2 separate regions of the Homo sapiens genome follow, and region 2 is linked to region 1. The links are contacts of gene promoters, found by promoter capture Hi-C in human tissues and cell types (Jung and others, 2019). All regions are on one chromosome and are shown on one strand. The core of a region is centred on a gene start or on the middle of the fragment in contact, and the rest is flanking DNA. Distances in the headings are between cores, read along the strand shown.

Evidence for each region. Contacts are between HindIII fragments. The study calls those that stand out against the background at their distance.
Region 2: a fragment that was not itself captured here is called in contact with the fragment with the promoter of NEK4 in region 1 in 1 of the 25 tissues and cell types used here (lymphoblastoid cells).

What each region holds. Positions count from the first base shown.
Region 1 is chr3:52,767,456-52,775,194 of GRCh38, forward strand. NEK4 (NIMA related kinase 4) reads right to left here and starts at 3,485. Exons shown (of 16, transcript NM_003157.6): 1 at 3,199-3,485; 2 at 883-1,149. The coding sequence starts at 3,291. RefSeq lists enhancers at 3,262-3,779, 3,567-3,616 and a silencer at 3,297-3,406. The HindIII fragment of the contact is 13,261 bases long and covers 1-6,833 here.
Region 2 is chr3:53,145,712-53,153,450 of GRCh38, forward strand. No RefSeq gene overlaps it. Among named protein-coding and RNA genes, the nearest start is that of PRKCD, 12 kb to the right of the region's middle. RefSeq lists an enhancer at 3,044-3,851. The HindIII fragment of the contact is 4,568 bases long and covers 2,579-7,146 here.

The sequences.
Region 1 (7,739 bases), core at 2,235-4,734:
AATCCCAGCACTTTGGGAGGCCGAGGCAGGTGGATCACCTGAGGTCAAGAGTTCGAGACCAGCCTGGCCAACATGGTAAAACCCCATCTCTACTAAAAATACAAAAAAAAAAATTAGCCAGGTATGGTGGCAGGCGCCTGTAATCCCAGCTACTTGGGAGGCTGAGGCAGGAGAATCGCTTGAACCTGGGAGGTGGAGGTTGCAGTGAGCCGAGATCGTGCCATTGCACTCCAGCCTAGATAACAAAAACAAAACTCCGTCTCAAAAGAAAAAAAAAAAAAGAGAGAAAGTATCTCAGAATTTAAACATGGTCAATTAATTCTGGACAAGTCTACCCAGTTCCAAAATAGTATTTCATAAACGTCTCGCTTTTGAGTTATATGCATATTAAAACACAAACTTGTAGGAACACTTATTCCATCTTAAGGAATGATGTGCTGCCCAATTCTAAAAAATAAAAAAAAGAAAACTTGTTTTGCATTCCCATCTACTGTACCCCAGCAGACTGACAGATGAAATCACTGGGCATATCAATTAGCCTAGCCACCTTTCAGCATGACACGACTGACCAATGGATAACAAACATAGTCACTCTATGCTCTTGGTTGCCTCAGGGTCCTTAAAATTGACTTTGCTATAAATGGTAATTGAGTGGGCTTCCCCTGCAATCAGACATGAAATCTATGTCTATTTTAATATAGGTATCACTTACTTAGAAAAGTTCCAATGCTACAGAAAGAGTGACTGGGTCAACTTCACAAATGAATTTTCCAAAAAATACATTTCTATATGTAAGTATCTGAAGAAAAATTTTCCTAAAATACACCTGCCATCTTCTTGCCATCTGGGAACAAGCTAGGATGCTATTAGTCTACACAGTACCTGCAAAGCCATGGCGATCTGTACAAACCACTCTACCACCTGATTCTCAGGCAGAAGCTGCCCTTTCTGCTCCTTGAGCTTTCGGTACAAATCACCTCCTTCACAGAAGCCCATGACAATGTAGAGCAGACCATCTCCTCCTTCCCATGACTCCTTGTAGGTGACAATGTTGGGATGCTTCAACTGAGACAAGAGCTGGGCTTCCTGTTCAGCAGCTCGCCGCTCTCGGCTAGAGGCATTTCGGAGGTTCAGTTTTTTGATGACATACTAAAAACAAACCATGTATTTTTACAATGTGCAAATAAACGTAAGATTTGTGGCCTCAGAGTTATCTAAGGGCTCTCAAGAATACCCTCAAAACCAACCTTGTGGAGCCTGTCAGATAACCTATTCATTTTGTTTTTCACCAAGCACAAAATCGGGGAAAATATTTGCTATTATTGATACTTCTTATAAGTTAGATTTATAGCAGTGTAGGGCCACAAAAATTACCTTTCCCATCTGCATTTCACAATTTCATTAATGACTAAAAAAAGTGAGTTCAAGATAACATACCATTGGATCAATTATAAAACCTGTGTTAGCAATTCCTTAATATCTGGCCATACACAGTGGCTCACACCTGTAATCCCAGCACTTTGGGAGGGTGAGGCGGGTGGATCACCTGAGGTCAGGAGTTCAAGACCAGCCTGGTCAACATGGTGAAACCTGTCTCTACTAAAAATACAAAAATTAGCCCGGCGTGGTGGTGTGTACCCATAGTCCCAGCAACTCGGGAGGCTGACACAGGAGAATTGCTTGAACCTGGGAGGCAGTAGTTGCAGCAGTGAGCCAACATCGCACCACTGCACTCCAGCCTGGGAGGCAGAGCAAGACTCTGTCTCAAAAAAAATAAAAAATAAAAAAAGAAATTCCTTAATATCTAAGCTCTCCCAAAAAGGTGAATAAAATATAGCTTGACTATACATTTGCAGACAGAATAGTCTGTGGATTACGTTAGATACTCAAAGGGATCCATGGCCCCATAAGTTTAATAGTCACTGATCTTCAGCATACAAAATTATTCACACTTAAAAGAAATCAATAGCCTCTAATACCTAATACATTGCCCTCAATCATTTCAAAGACCATACAATTCATTTCTTCAACACATAGATAAATGTGTTTTGTGAAGTGTAAACTAAAGCTCAAATAACTAGCTATTGCTAGTTCCCTATCATCAGCCCCAAAATCCAATGATTCCCCCAATGCCTACTGAATAAATTTCTTATGCATGAGCTTGTGTTCCACGCAAAGCAACTAGCACCAGAGACAAGGAAGAACAGGCAATTGGGCCCTATATTTAGGGGGAACATCTCTTCTCAGCTTGCCTGGAGCAGTCCTACTGTCCTGGTGTAACTATTAATAATGCCTTTCAGTTTCAAAATTGTCCCAGTTTGTACATTATATTGTCACCCTATTAATAAACCACATTGAATAATTGGTTCATTATCCTGAGAGTAATGGGATAAAGTGTTTTAAACAGAGGAGTGACAACATCAGATTTAAATTTGAGAAAGATCACTGAGGCTGCAGTGAAAGTGATGGATTGGAGAAAAGCAAGTCAAGTGGCGGCGACCAGTTGGGAAACCGTGGCCATAGCTTTGCTAGAGACAACAGGGTGTCCTGGATTGGGGTGGTAGCAGTAGAGATGAGAGGAGGCCTATTGTCTTAGTGATAGATGAATATAATCAGTGTTGGGGTGCGTGGGGAGGCTTAAAAATGACTCCAGGTGTCCGGCTTGGGCAACTGGTGGGTTGGTGTCACTATTCACTGAAACGGAAGACATGAGAGAAGGTTTGGCGGGAAGAAAATGAGTCGAGTTTTAAGTGAATCCAGCAGTCTACAGTAGAGACGTTTGGGGCCCTTCATTCAAGGAATAATGCTTGCTAGGCGCTGTATTAAGTCCTGGGAATGCATGATACCGGCTCTCATGAGAGTATCGGGGTTGGGAGAAAGGTGTGTAGATCACGCATGCCAATTAGTACAACAAAGAAGTAGATAGGCAGAGACTGAAAATTTTTACATAAAACTTAGAATTGTAATTAAAGAAAATGAAAATTAAAAGGAAAAAAATTTAACACAACAAAGAAGTAGAAGTAGTTCTGGGCGCATATTACAGGGAGGCCAGGCCTCGTCTTGGTCTGGGACCATTTCCCTGAGGAAACGCCATCCGAGATGAGCCTCTTGCGACCACCCCCGACCTAATCTACCGGTCGGCGCCCTCGGCGCACTTCTGCCCGCCCCCGCCCCTTGCCGGGCCCCACCCCTGCAGACCTGCTTGCCGTCCCGCCGGTGCTTCACAAGCGTCACCTCTCCATAGCTCCCCTTGCCCACGACCCGCAGGTAGCAGTAGGCGGCCAGGGGCATGTTCCCAGCGCTGGCCCAGAGTCGGGATGCGGCGGCAGCGGCGGGTAGGGCAGCGGGCGGCAACAAGAAGCTCGGTTCATGCCCGAGAGGGGGCAGTGGGGGCGGCTGTTGAGGCAGCCGGGCCCGGGCGGGATTGCTGGGGCCCGGCCCGCGACGACGCCGCTGCCATAGCGATCCGGGCCGGGAGCAGTTCTGCGCATGCTCCTGCGTCCCCAAAGGACGGCCATAGAGCGGACGCCACGAGCGGCCAGAGAGGTTCCGCAGCCCCGGGAGGACCCGCCATAGAGCAGAGGCTCCAGGAGGCCAGAGCGACTCCGCCAGGCTCCGCGCACTTTCTGTGCGTCCGTTCCACCGTCCGGATCCCCGCCACAACAGAGTCAGGGAAAGCTTCCTCTTTTTGTGCACTTGTTTGTCCTAAGGCCGTTACAAGTATTGTTCGTTCATTCTGCAAATATTTGTTGACCGCCTATGTGCCAGGCCAACAAAGTCCCTGCCCTCCTGGAGCTCATGTTCTAATGACTGGGTGACAGACTCTCTACCAGTAACATTTGCTGTATCCGCTTTATCACATGCCGTCTCTGCATCCAGCAATCCATCCTATTTTTTGATACATTCAAAGTAAATTATCAGTACCTTTCATCCCTAAAAACTCGCCTGCTAATTGAGAACTACAAAGACTCCTCAGCATTTAACGACTACCCTAACCACTGCACTAAGAGACTTGACTAAACTCTAACATGGCATCATGCTAAGTTAACAGCCTAAGGGCGGATCTCTAGGTGGGCCTAGGCCCCTTTAAAATGCCTGCCCAAGAAAGCTCAGGGGTGCCAAAAGAATTCACCATTTGTTCCAGCCAAAGCCTCCCTTTCCCAGAGCGCTTCCTTTTTTTCCTTTTTTTTTTTTTTTTTTTTTTTTGAGACAGGGTCTCGCCCTGCCACCCAGCTTGGAGTGCAGTGGTGCAATGGTGCTCACTGCTGCCTAGACTTCCTGGGCTCAAGCCATCCTCCCAACTACAGGCACACACGTCCATGCCTGGCTAATCCTATTTTATTTTTTTTCAGAGACAGGGTGTCACTATGTTCCCCAGACCGGTCTTGAACTCCTCGGCTCAAGCAATTCACCCACGTTGGCCTCCCAAAATGCCGTTATTACAGGTGTGCGCCATCGTGCCTGGCCTCTTTCCTTTTTATGGCCAAATAATATTCCATTATATGTATACACCACAATTTGTTTATCCATTCATGCAGTCATGGACACGGATAGCTTCCATCTTTTGGCTATTGTGAATAATTCGGCTATGAACATGGGTGTACGAATATCTGTTTGAGTCCCTGCTTTCTTTTTAATTCATTTGGGTATACACTCAGAAGTGAAATTGCTGGATCATATGCTAATTCTAGTTTAATGTATTGAGAAACCACCACACCATTTTTTACAGCAAGCTGAACCATTTTACATTCCCATTAGCAATCCACAGGGGTTCAAATTTCTCCTCATCCTTGATATATATCTTGATAGGAGATTTGGGTGTATGAATTTGTCAAAATTATCTAATGGTACATTTAGTATTTGCACATTTTACTCAAAGCAATTTCATCTTCACTAGAAAACCAAACAAAAAGAACCATAAATAAAGATTGAACTCTAGTTAATGATATTATTAAAGATAAACAAAGCCAGGCATTAAAATGATGAAAATAGATTTTATTCAGTAACTACTGACAGTAGGGGAAGCAGCTGAACTCCATTCCATTTGCGCAGGGGTGATTGGGCATTCCAAAGGAAGAATAAGGGAGTAGGCAGGGGAGCATGCAGGGGCTCACTTAGAGTCTGGGAAGTGAAAAATTAAAAGGAGTGCTTAGCGTAAATGTGATTAGGCCAACTGTGTCTGCTAGCTGGCAATTAGGGAAGTTAGGATTCTATTCTCCCACATAGACTGGGAGACATGAGCCCTACCTTTATGATGATTACATTCCAAAGGAATGGATTTCAGGTCCTTGAGAAAGACATTCCTAGGTTGTAGGAAATACATAGGTATATATCTCAGAGGGACAGAGGAAGGATTTGTAATTGTAGCTTTTTAAAGTTAGTGCTCTAGAGGCCACACACTATGACTCACACCTAATCCCAGCACTTTGAGAGGCCAAGGTGGGAGGATCACTTGAGACCAGCCTACGAAACACAGTGAGACCCCCTTCTCTACAAAAAATTTTTAAAATTAGCTGGGTGTGGTGGCGCATGCCTGTAGTCCCAGCTACCTGGGAGGCTGAGGTGGGAGAATCAGTTGAGCCTCGGAGGTTGAGGCTGCAGTGAGCCATGATCCTGCCACTGCACTCCAGCTGAGTGACAGAGTGAGACTCTGTCTCAAAATAAATAAATTTTTAAAAAGGAAGGATGTTCTGACATGCTACAACATGGACGACCCCTGAGGACATTATGCTAAACAAAATAAGGCAGTCACAGAGGACAAAAGTATGATTTCGCTTATGTGAGGTACCTGTAGTAGTCAAAGTCATAGATTCAGAAAGTAGAATGGTGGTTGCCAGTTGTTGGAGAGAGGAGGGAATTGGTGGTTGGTGTTTAATGGGTGCAGAGTTTTAGCTGGGGAAAATGAAAAAGTCCTGGAGATGGATGGTGGTGATGGATGCAAAACATGAATGTACTTATGCCACCGAACTGTATTCTTAAAAATGGTTAAATAATAAATTTTATGTTTTGTATATTTTACCACAATAAAAAATTATGGCACACTGCTCCTGTAATCCCAGCTACTCAGGAGGCCGAGGCATGAGAATCACGTGAACCCGGGAGGCGGAGATTGCATTGGGCCAAGATCATGTCACTGCACTCCAGCCTGGGCGACAGAGCAATACTCCTTCTAAAAAAAAAAAAAAAAAAAAAAACCTATCATTCATTCTACAGACATTTAGCAAGGGTCTACTAGCCTGGACCTGGAGGACAACTATGAACAAGACAGACAAGGGCCTGCCCATGTGGGGCTTACTGTCGAAGAGGGAGACGGCCATGCATACTAACAAGCTACCCTTGCCAACTGAGGTCAGTACTGTTCAGAAAAGCCGCCAGGCCCAGCCTGGCCATCCAGGAGAGGTTGCCCCAAGCAAGCACCGCATGAGTGGAAGTTTAAACAAAAACTTTTTCAGGCAGAGGAGCAACATGTGCTAAGATCCAGTGGATTCATTTTGTGACTTTACCTCCACACCGCAATGTGAACTCCCTGAGGACGAGGCCAGGCCTGTCTGCTTCAACACCCTAAACCCAGCAGGTATAAATGAAGGAATTGCCGCTTGCTGAATGAATGAATGGAGAAGCACCTGCCTACCTGGATCTAAAAGAAGTCTCTGCAGTTGAAGCTGAGAGACTCAGAGGGGCCATGGGCTAGGTGACATAGAGGGGTCAGCAGGGGCCATACCACTCAGGATAGGGTGTGCGAGACAGGGAAAGGCCTGCGGCAGACTGACCTTTCTAAATGGTGACTCTGGCTGCTGCCTGGAGCAGAGCAGAAGGAGGAGATGAGCCGTCTAAATGAGGGATGAGGGCAGCTTGAACTAGGTGGTGACGGGGGATGGGGAGAGAAGTTAATGGATTAGAGGGATATTCAGAGGGTGGGAGGTGGGGTAGGTGGTCAAGGAGACTGAGGCACCCAGGATGCCACCCAGCCTTCTGGCTTGGATGGCCAACTAGATGGCGGTGGCCTTGACTGGAGTGGACAACAGGGGGAAGATCTGGCTTAGTAACGGGGTGTGGGGAGGAGGAGACAAAGGTCAGGAGTTCAGTTTGGACATACCAGATGGAGGGGCTGTGGGCACATCAAGCAGACAGTTGGCTGTGTGTGGGTGGCGCTCAGAGCAGGTCTGGGCCCATGTGCTGTCCCACCGGCACCAGCAGCACAGCTACACTCCCCATTCTCAATCCTCAGCAACCATAGCTGCTTTCTGTCCACCCTGGCCCCCACCTCCCACATGCATATGGTGGGCCAACGTCTCTTTCTCTGTACCATGAGGATAATAGTAACAATAATATCTGTCTCTTGTGGGGAGTTGTGAGCAGTAAATGAATTCGGACGTGATGCTAAGAAGCATGACAGGCACAGGTCATAGTTAGCTCTCCCCATCTCCTGTCCACCCTCCCCCTGTGCAAACATGCTTCTAGCACTTTACATGGACCAGGCTTGGTGCTAGCCATCTCTCAACAGCCCAGTCTTGAACTCATCACACCCTTGCTTAAAATATCTTAAGTATCTCCCACCCAAAAGGCTAATCACTTTCAGACCCCTGCGCCAGCTGGTCCCAACCCCCTTCCCAGCCACCTTCCCTACCCTCTTCATCAGCTCCTGCTCCCATCCCAGACACCTCTACCTTCCCACAGCATACATCCCACCTGCCCGTCTGCTTTTCTCTCCCTCCCTTCCCGCCTTCCCCTTCCCAAGC
Region 2 (7,739 bases), core at 3,613-6,112, 380 kb after region 1:
ATTTTCACATGTACATCTTCACTGATCAGCCTTCGCTCAGGTGTGGAACAACTTTCTCCCTCCTCCTTCAGGAGTCATCTCCTCCTGGAAGCTTTCTTTGATTTCCTGAGTGGGGTCAAGGGTTCCTCTGGCTCTCAGTCCCTAGGCTTCCCCATCTGGGCCCTGCTCACTCTGTGTGATCATTTCTTGGCTCCTATTACGATTCCTGGTGACTAGTCTGCCCTCCCTCTGACTGTCAGCTCCAAGAGAGCAATCGTATCCCTAGAGCTGAGGGCAGAGGTTGGTGTATAGCAGGTGCTCAACAAATAATGTTGAAGGACAGAATAAATTATCTTGCTTAATCCTTAAATAAGTCTGTGGTATAGGCATTATTATGTGTATTATTTCTATTATCCTTATTTTATAGACAAGAAAACAGGCCCAAGTGGCAGTACTGGGATTGACCTGTCTGTCTGGCCCTAAGTCTAATGCTTCCTCAATAACCCATCTGGGACCTTGACTCTTTCCCCTGAGGACCCCAAGTTCCTTGAGTCAGGGACCCTCCGTTTCTGCTCAGGGAAGCTCCTGACCCCTCCCAAGGGCTCTGGTACCCAGTGGGTGCCAATCCATGTGTTTGAATGGCTGGAAAGGGCAAGGGAGAAGTCAGACTTTTGTCCTTGACCTGGGAAGGAATGCACAGTGAGCACCTTGGGAGCAGAAGGCTGGGCAAGGGGACCTGTGATCCCTGGGCCCCAGAGCAGTTCTGAGAAGATGTGCTCTGGGGAGGGTCTCAAGTCTCGGATGGAGGCGGGTGTGGAAGGTGCTCTGATGCAGCAGCCCAGATGCCTTCCATCCAAAGGCACTGTGCCACTGTGGGGCCGCATCCCTAACTAGGCTATCGCAGCCTTGCAGGAACCTGAGACAGAAGACAGATGATACTGTCTGCCTTCTCCCCATCCTGTGTCAGGCATTGAGAACGAGGACAAAGAAATCAGGGCATGGGCAGTGCAAGGGGGGGACAGGGCAAGGACAGCTTTGCACAAGAAGCCCTGGCCTGACCCTGGCCTCAATCCTTGGCAGGAGGTGGGCTGCAAAGGGAGGGCCAATGGATTTCAACTGATGTATCAATTCCAGCTGGTCGCCAATGGCTCCCTGGAGCTGTGTTGACAAGGATTCTGAGCTATATCCCTCCAGGCTCGGCAAGAAGCTCTGTGATCACTTAGCAATATCTGCCTCAAGCACAGAAGTGGGCACAGTAGCTCACCTAGGAATTTGCCACCCCCTTCTTCTACCTTTCCTCAGCTCTCAGCAGAGTAGGGATTTAATAAAGGTTTGTAGATTCACTGTTGACTAACAAGGTCAGTGCAGAAGTCATTTAGAGTTACCATTTTCTGTGTAGATGAGAAACATGAACACATGGCCTATTTACTATTGCCTCTGCAAGAACCAGAAAGGGAACCAGTGAGAAGAGAAAATGACAGACAGCAAGTGAGAAGCCAGTTAGATGCAAGTGAGACGTCAGTTAGAACTTCCTAGTAGTATGGACTAAGACCTTAGCCCAGGGACAAGGGAAGTCGCAGCTCAGCCCTCACGAGTCAGCAGAGACTGGGAGTTTTTTAAGGCAAATTCCAGACAGCAAACTTGGCTAGGCCCAGGCAGTGAGTCTTGTGTGGCAGGAGATGGGGTGCAGTAGACTCACACACCCCCACTGCGCCCAGGACAGTGCGAGGGGCACAAAGCGGTCCTGGGTGGAGCCCTGCCCTCACACCACTTCCCACGCTGTAGGTGGGGAAGAGCAGGCAGGGACACACAGGTTCCCTCTGGGCTGAGAAGATCTGGGCAGGCTGCAGGGGAGATGGCATGGCCAAGAGTGCCGGCTGTGAGGCAGCCAGACTGTGTGCCTACCCTTGCCTTCCCCAGTCTCTTGTTTCCCCCTAGACACCCACCTGTGAGGCCACACAGGCCTCACAGTTGGCAAATGAGCTTTCAGAAGGGAAACTGTCCTTCCCCTGCCAGCTGCTGACGCCTCCACGCCGGTCACTTGTCTCACTCCACCCAGGCCAGTTACCCACTGTCTCACTCTCACCTCTGTGGCTTTAGGGACAAGCTGGCCTAGTGGTTGTGAAGTCTGGCCCAGAACCCAGGGTACTGTGGGTGACCATAGGCATGTCACTTAGATTCCCAGGGCCTCAGTATCCCCTCCTGTAAAATGGGACTAATGATGGTACCCATATCATAGGGGCTTTGTGGGAAGTTTGTGAATTAAGGAACATCAAGTGTTAGTTCAGGGCCTGGTAGGTAGTGAGTGCTTGATATGTGGGGGCTGGAATTACTGTTCTTGTTATGATGTGAAGCTGAGACCAAGCTCTCTTCACACCCTCTGTAGAGTCTGGAATCCACCCAGACACCCAGGGGACCACAACCAAGATCTGGAGGCCTGTAGGCTGATGGAGGGCCCTGGAGCTGGGACTTGGAACACTCTGCACTAGGCCTGGTGCAGAACAAGAGGGGCAGGGGCAGGGCTCCCTGCAGCCTGTGGCCCTGGGCCTGCTGAGCTTAGGGCTATATGCAGAGCTGGCCACCCCAGGCCACCTATAATTACCTTTTGGCAGAGCTCTGCGGTACTGGGCGGGGTAGCAATTTTCAGGTTTTATTTTGATGCCCAGACAGTGCCTTTGGGCAGCTTAGCACCAGTTGCTGCCAGACAGGATCAAAAATTGAGTTCTTCAGGGAGGAGGCCCTTCCAAGGAGGCTGACCTCTGAGTGCAGGGTCTAGGGTTCAAGATCCCATGGTCTCCACCAGGCACAGTAATAATCCCTGTATCCTGTAATCACGCCTGTAATCCCAGCACTTTGGGAGGCCAAGGTGGGCGGATCACCTGAGGTCAGGAGTTTGTGACCAGACTGGCCAACATGGTGAAACTCCATCTCCATTTAAAAATATAAAAATTAGCCAGGTGTGGTGACGCGTGCCTGTGGTTCCAGCTACTCAGGAGGCTGAGGCAGGAGAATCGCTTGAACCCAGAAGGCAGAGGTTGCAGTCAGCTGAGATCACACCACTGCACTCCAGCCTAGGCGACAGAGCGAGACTCTGTCTCAAAAAAAAAAAAAAGAAAGAAAGAACGAAAAGATCCCATGCCCATGGTCTCCACAGACACCCCCAACTTTTTTTTTTTTTTTTTTTTTGAGATGGAGTCTCGGCAGGCTGAAGTGCAGTGGCATGATCTTGGGGCTCACTACAACCTCCGCCTCCCAGGTTCAAGCATTTCTCATGCCTCAGCCTCCCGAGTAGCTGGGATTACAGGCATGTGCCACCATGCCCAACTAATTTTTTTGTATTTTTAGTGGAGGCAGGGTTTTACCATGTTTCCAGGCTGGTCTCGAACTCCTGGCCTTAAGTGATCCATCCACCTCAGCCTCCCTAAGTGTTGGGATTACAGGCGTGAGCCACTGTGCCCGGCCCACAGACTCCCTTTTGCCCAGTCCCTGGGGGCAGGGGCTGCGCCGGGGAGCCTGGGTAGCTGGGAGAGTCAATGGGAAGCAATGCAGGCCCTCTGGGACACAGAGTAGAGCACACAGGAGGATCCAGGCCGGGAAGGCACAGTGGACTCTTTTCCTTGTTCTCCTCTGCTCTGTCCCCCTTCCCTCCTCCCCTCAGGAGGGAAAGCCTTGGTCTTATGTGGAAAGACGCTGTCAAAACTTCCGCTGGGGTGGTGTGGAATGAGGGTGTCTCGGGAGCGGATCCTGAGCCTGAGCCATCTCTGGAGGCCACACACTCTTGCCTGCTTGCACCTGGCATCTCCTACCCTGCTGCCCCCACGCCATGCCTCTTAAGCATAAGAATGCATGCACATATGTGTCCTTGCACACTCACCCAACAGCGACCAGGGTGATGATAAAGGAAGTGATGGTAGCTTCCCACCCAAAACTCCCTCATCTTGAAGCAGGGAGAGAAGGAAGTCAGGCTCCAGGTAGGAGAAACAACCCCGTGTGTGCCTGAGTACCTACGGACCCCACGGCCATTAGCATGGCAGGCCTGCCCCATGGTGCTTAATCATGCACTGCTGCTCCCTCTTCTCTTGGACACATTCCTGCCTGCTGCGTCTGACCCCCATGGCAGAGCCCATATTTCTCTGGATCCCATAGAGACTTCCAGGGCAGGGCCTGCCAGTGCTCCTGGGTGCAGGGAGCCCCAGAAGTCCAGGCCAACCCCATGCAGCTTAACTTTTGGCCCTTGCTATATGGAGGCTGGGGGCTGAAGAAGCCAAGAAACATGCAGTCACTAAGGTTGCTGAGTGCTGTCTCTGGGCACAGCGATGTCAACACAGGAAACCTGGTCTTCACTGAGTACCTGCTGTGTACCCGGCCCTCACAAGGTGGGAGTCATGTGTGTGGTGGCAGTGGGGAGTGATCAGGAGGACAGGACATGGCACTCAAGGGGTGACCTTGCAGCTAGGGAAGGAACAAAAACATACAGGATCTAAGTCTCAATTGCCAAAAAGGATAGCTCCTGGAAGCCCAGAGACCTGTAGACTCAGGTTTTAGAATTGACAGTGAAGGAAAGGAAGGGTTCAAGGTGGCCCAGGAGCACCCTATACTCATCCTTGAGTCAGCTGGCCAGTGTCCCAGCAGCTCATTATGTAAGGGCTGAGCCAGCCAAGTTTGCAGAGCAAAGGTCAGAATGGCAAAGATTTATTGGAAAGTCTCCTTGCACTCATACCCATGAGTGCCCTTTCATGTGGGGACATTTTGTGCTCCTGGAGCACACTGCAGTTGGTCTTGGGTACTTCCTTGGGACAGGGAAGCTGGGCACGTGGGCTGGTGGAAGTCTTGGGCTCTGAGTTTCCACCCCTGCATCGGGCTTGGGCATGGCCAGCACTCTGGTTCCTACCCGATTGGCTCCAGAGACCCAGGAAGCATTCATATGAATCATATAGGTCATGGCTTCATTTTCCCACTCATTTAAAGGTGCCTGGTGCACTCACACCTGCCTCCAGCCTTTGCTCTTACTGTTTCCTCTGCCTTGAGTGACCTTCCTCCAGATCTTCTCCCCTCCAGTTTCTGCCTGGAAAGCCCTCTTTCCAAGCTTCATTTCCCATGATCTTCACCACAAACCCAGGCTTTTGTATGGCACCCAAGGCCGCTGTGAGTGTGAATCTTCAACTGGCCCCTGAGGCACCTGCCAGCAGTAACCAGTGCCCTGCGAATCCCACCCTGCAGCCCCTCAGCCTTCCCTAGAGTCAGCCTTGGATGCAGCGGGCTCATTACCTTCAAGCCTTTGCTCAGGCTGTTCCTTCTGCCTGGAGTGCTTTCTCTGCCTCCTCTGCCTTCCCACCACTGCCCACTAAGGAATTCCTTCTTGCTCTTCCCGGCCCAGCACCAAGGGCACCTTTTTGGTGAAGCCTTCCCTGCTTTGTTGGCCCTCGCACAGAAATTTTTTTTTTTTTTTTTTTTTGAGGCAGAGTCTCGCTCTGTCACCCAGGCCGGAGTGCAGTGGCATGATATTGGCTCACTGCAACCTCTGCCTCCCGGGCTCTAGTGATTCTCGTGCCTCAGCCTCCTGAGTAGCTGAGATTACAGGCATGCGGCACCACGCCCGGCTAATTTTTTGTATTTAGTAGAGGTGGGGTTTCACCATGTTGGCCAGGCTGATCTCAGACTCCTGACCTCAAATGATCTGCCCTCCTCGGCCTCCCAAAGTGCTGGGAATACAGGCATGAGCCACCATATGAAGCCATGCCTTAGATTTTATACAGAGGGCTTGAGGCATGCAAGCTTTCCTGTCCTACCCTAAAATACACCCTGAGGTTAACAAATTAAATCATAATAACAAAGCTGGCAATAATCCACTGAGCACTCGCTCTGATCCAGGCACGGTGCTAGGCCCTCCTCTTGTCTACTCTCTATGAGCCTCTGTTAGCAGCGAGTGGAAGCCAGAGAGGGAAGGTGATGTGCCCAGGGTCACATAGCTGAGTGGCTGAGCTCCCTGCCAGAAGACCAGCCCCCAGTAGCCCCAGGACACTCCTGACCTTGGCCACCACTTTCAACACCTCCGTAAGAATAGGCCCTTTCACTCATGCATTCTGACTCCCTCAGCGGACTCAGGCTCAGGGGCTTGGGCTGCCCCTCAGGCATGAGGAGAGGAAGAGGGGACCCTGGAGGGCAGTCACACAGGCATGCAACAGCAGGGAGGCTCCAGCCCAGAACCTCTGTGTCAGAGGAAAACAGGTACTTGTGGGACTCCCTCCCTTCCTCTGGTGGGCCATGGGCCGAAGTCCAGGTCACCATCTGGTCCCCTGCAAGCAGATCTTGCAGAATGTCCACCCCGGCTCCAGTTTCCTGAGACGTTGTCCTGGCCACGTCCCTGTCAGAACTGACTACCAGGCAGCAGAGCTGGCCCCAGGGCAGCATCCGTCTTCGGCTAGGGAAGGGGCTGAGACCCTCCGCAGGACACGTGAACACACCAGGTCTTGGACTCCTGCCTCAGCGCCCTGCAACAACCTGTGTGGCCTTGGGCCGGGCTTCACCTGAGCCTCAGTTTCCTCGTCTCTGGGATGGACGGGAATCCCTGCTTTACCCCAGGTGTAGGCAATTAGACAGCAATGAGGTGGCTGCCCACTCCTGTCCATCCTCCCATCAGACCCTGTGCTCAACCGGCAAGGAAGCCAGGCATCTTCTTCCTCCTCTCCCTTGCTCCATCAGTCAGTCCATGTGACCACTGACCGTTGGGTCTTTCATCATCCTCCCATCGTGTTTCAGAGAAGCTGAGCCACCTGCCTGAGGTCACACAGTTAGAGCAGGCTGAGCCAGGAGGAGAAGCCTGCAGCCTGGGCACACCTGCCTCTGAAGCCACCAGGTTTTCGTCCTGACCTTCGTCCAGCCTCGCACAGACGTCGGGCCTGGCCCTGCTACCTGGCCTTGGGCTTGCCTCCCTGAGCCTTGACTTCCTCAACTGTAAACTGGGGTTGCTCTTACTCTGCAGGTTGTCCTGATAGGCGGTTTTTAATCACTCAGCCTCTCCCTGGTAGCAGAGGTAAATTAGTATCTACTGTCCCATCACCTTTTCTGGGTAGCTGCAGCCACAGAGACCGAGAGGGGCAAGGCCCTGCCAGGATCCTGCAGCCAGTCAGAGGCATGGCTGAGCAGGCCTCTACCTGAGGGTCCAGCGTCTCCGCAGGCTCACTGGCATTGTGTGTGTCCACCGAGGGCCCGTGGAAGCCTCAGTGTTGCCACAACTCACTACCTGGACACAAACTTGCTCACTAATGTTTGCCCAGGCCTACCCTAGCCTGGTAGGCACTTCAGCGCTTAGCCTTCTTCCAGAAGTTTCACCCTACACCCACCTGGGCCCCCTGGCAGACAAGATCTGGGAAGCTGGCCTGCCCCTCAGCTTCTAGGGTTCCCTCAAAGCTGGGGATAGCCAGGGGACCTGGATCAGTGGTGGTGTGGGGTTGAGGCAATCCAGGGGAGGCACATTTGGGGGACAGTCAGTGATACCAGCTCCCACGTGAAGGACAGGGATGTAGGAGGCATCCTGATGTCCCCGGTCATCCCCTGCCCTCACTTCCTCCTGGTAACCCTATTCTGTCTTCCTCAGTGAACTGGGAGATGAAATGGAGCATCAGACTGTGGCTTGGCAGCCACACATAGATGGGTGGGGAGGCAGAGGGAGGAAGGAGGTCTTGGATTGTGTTGTGGGATGAAAAACACACATTGCCCTCATGTCGGAGCACTACCTAACCTGGCTTAAGAGGTTAGCC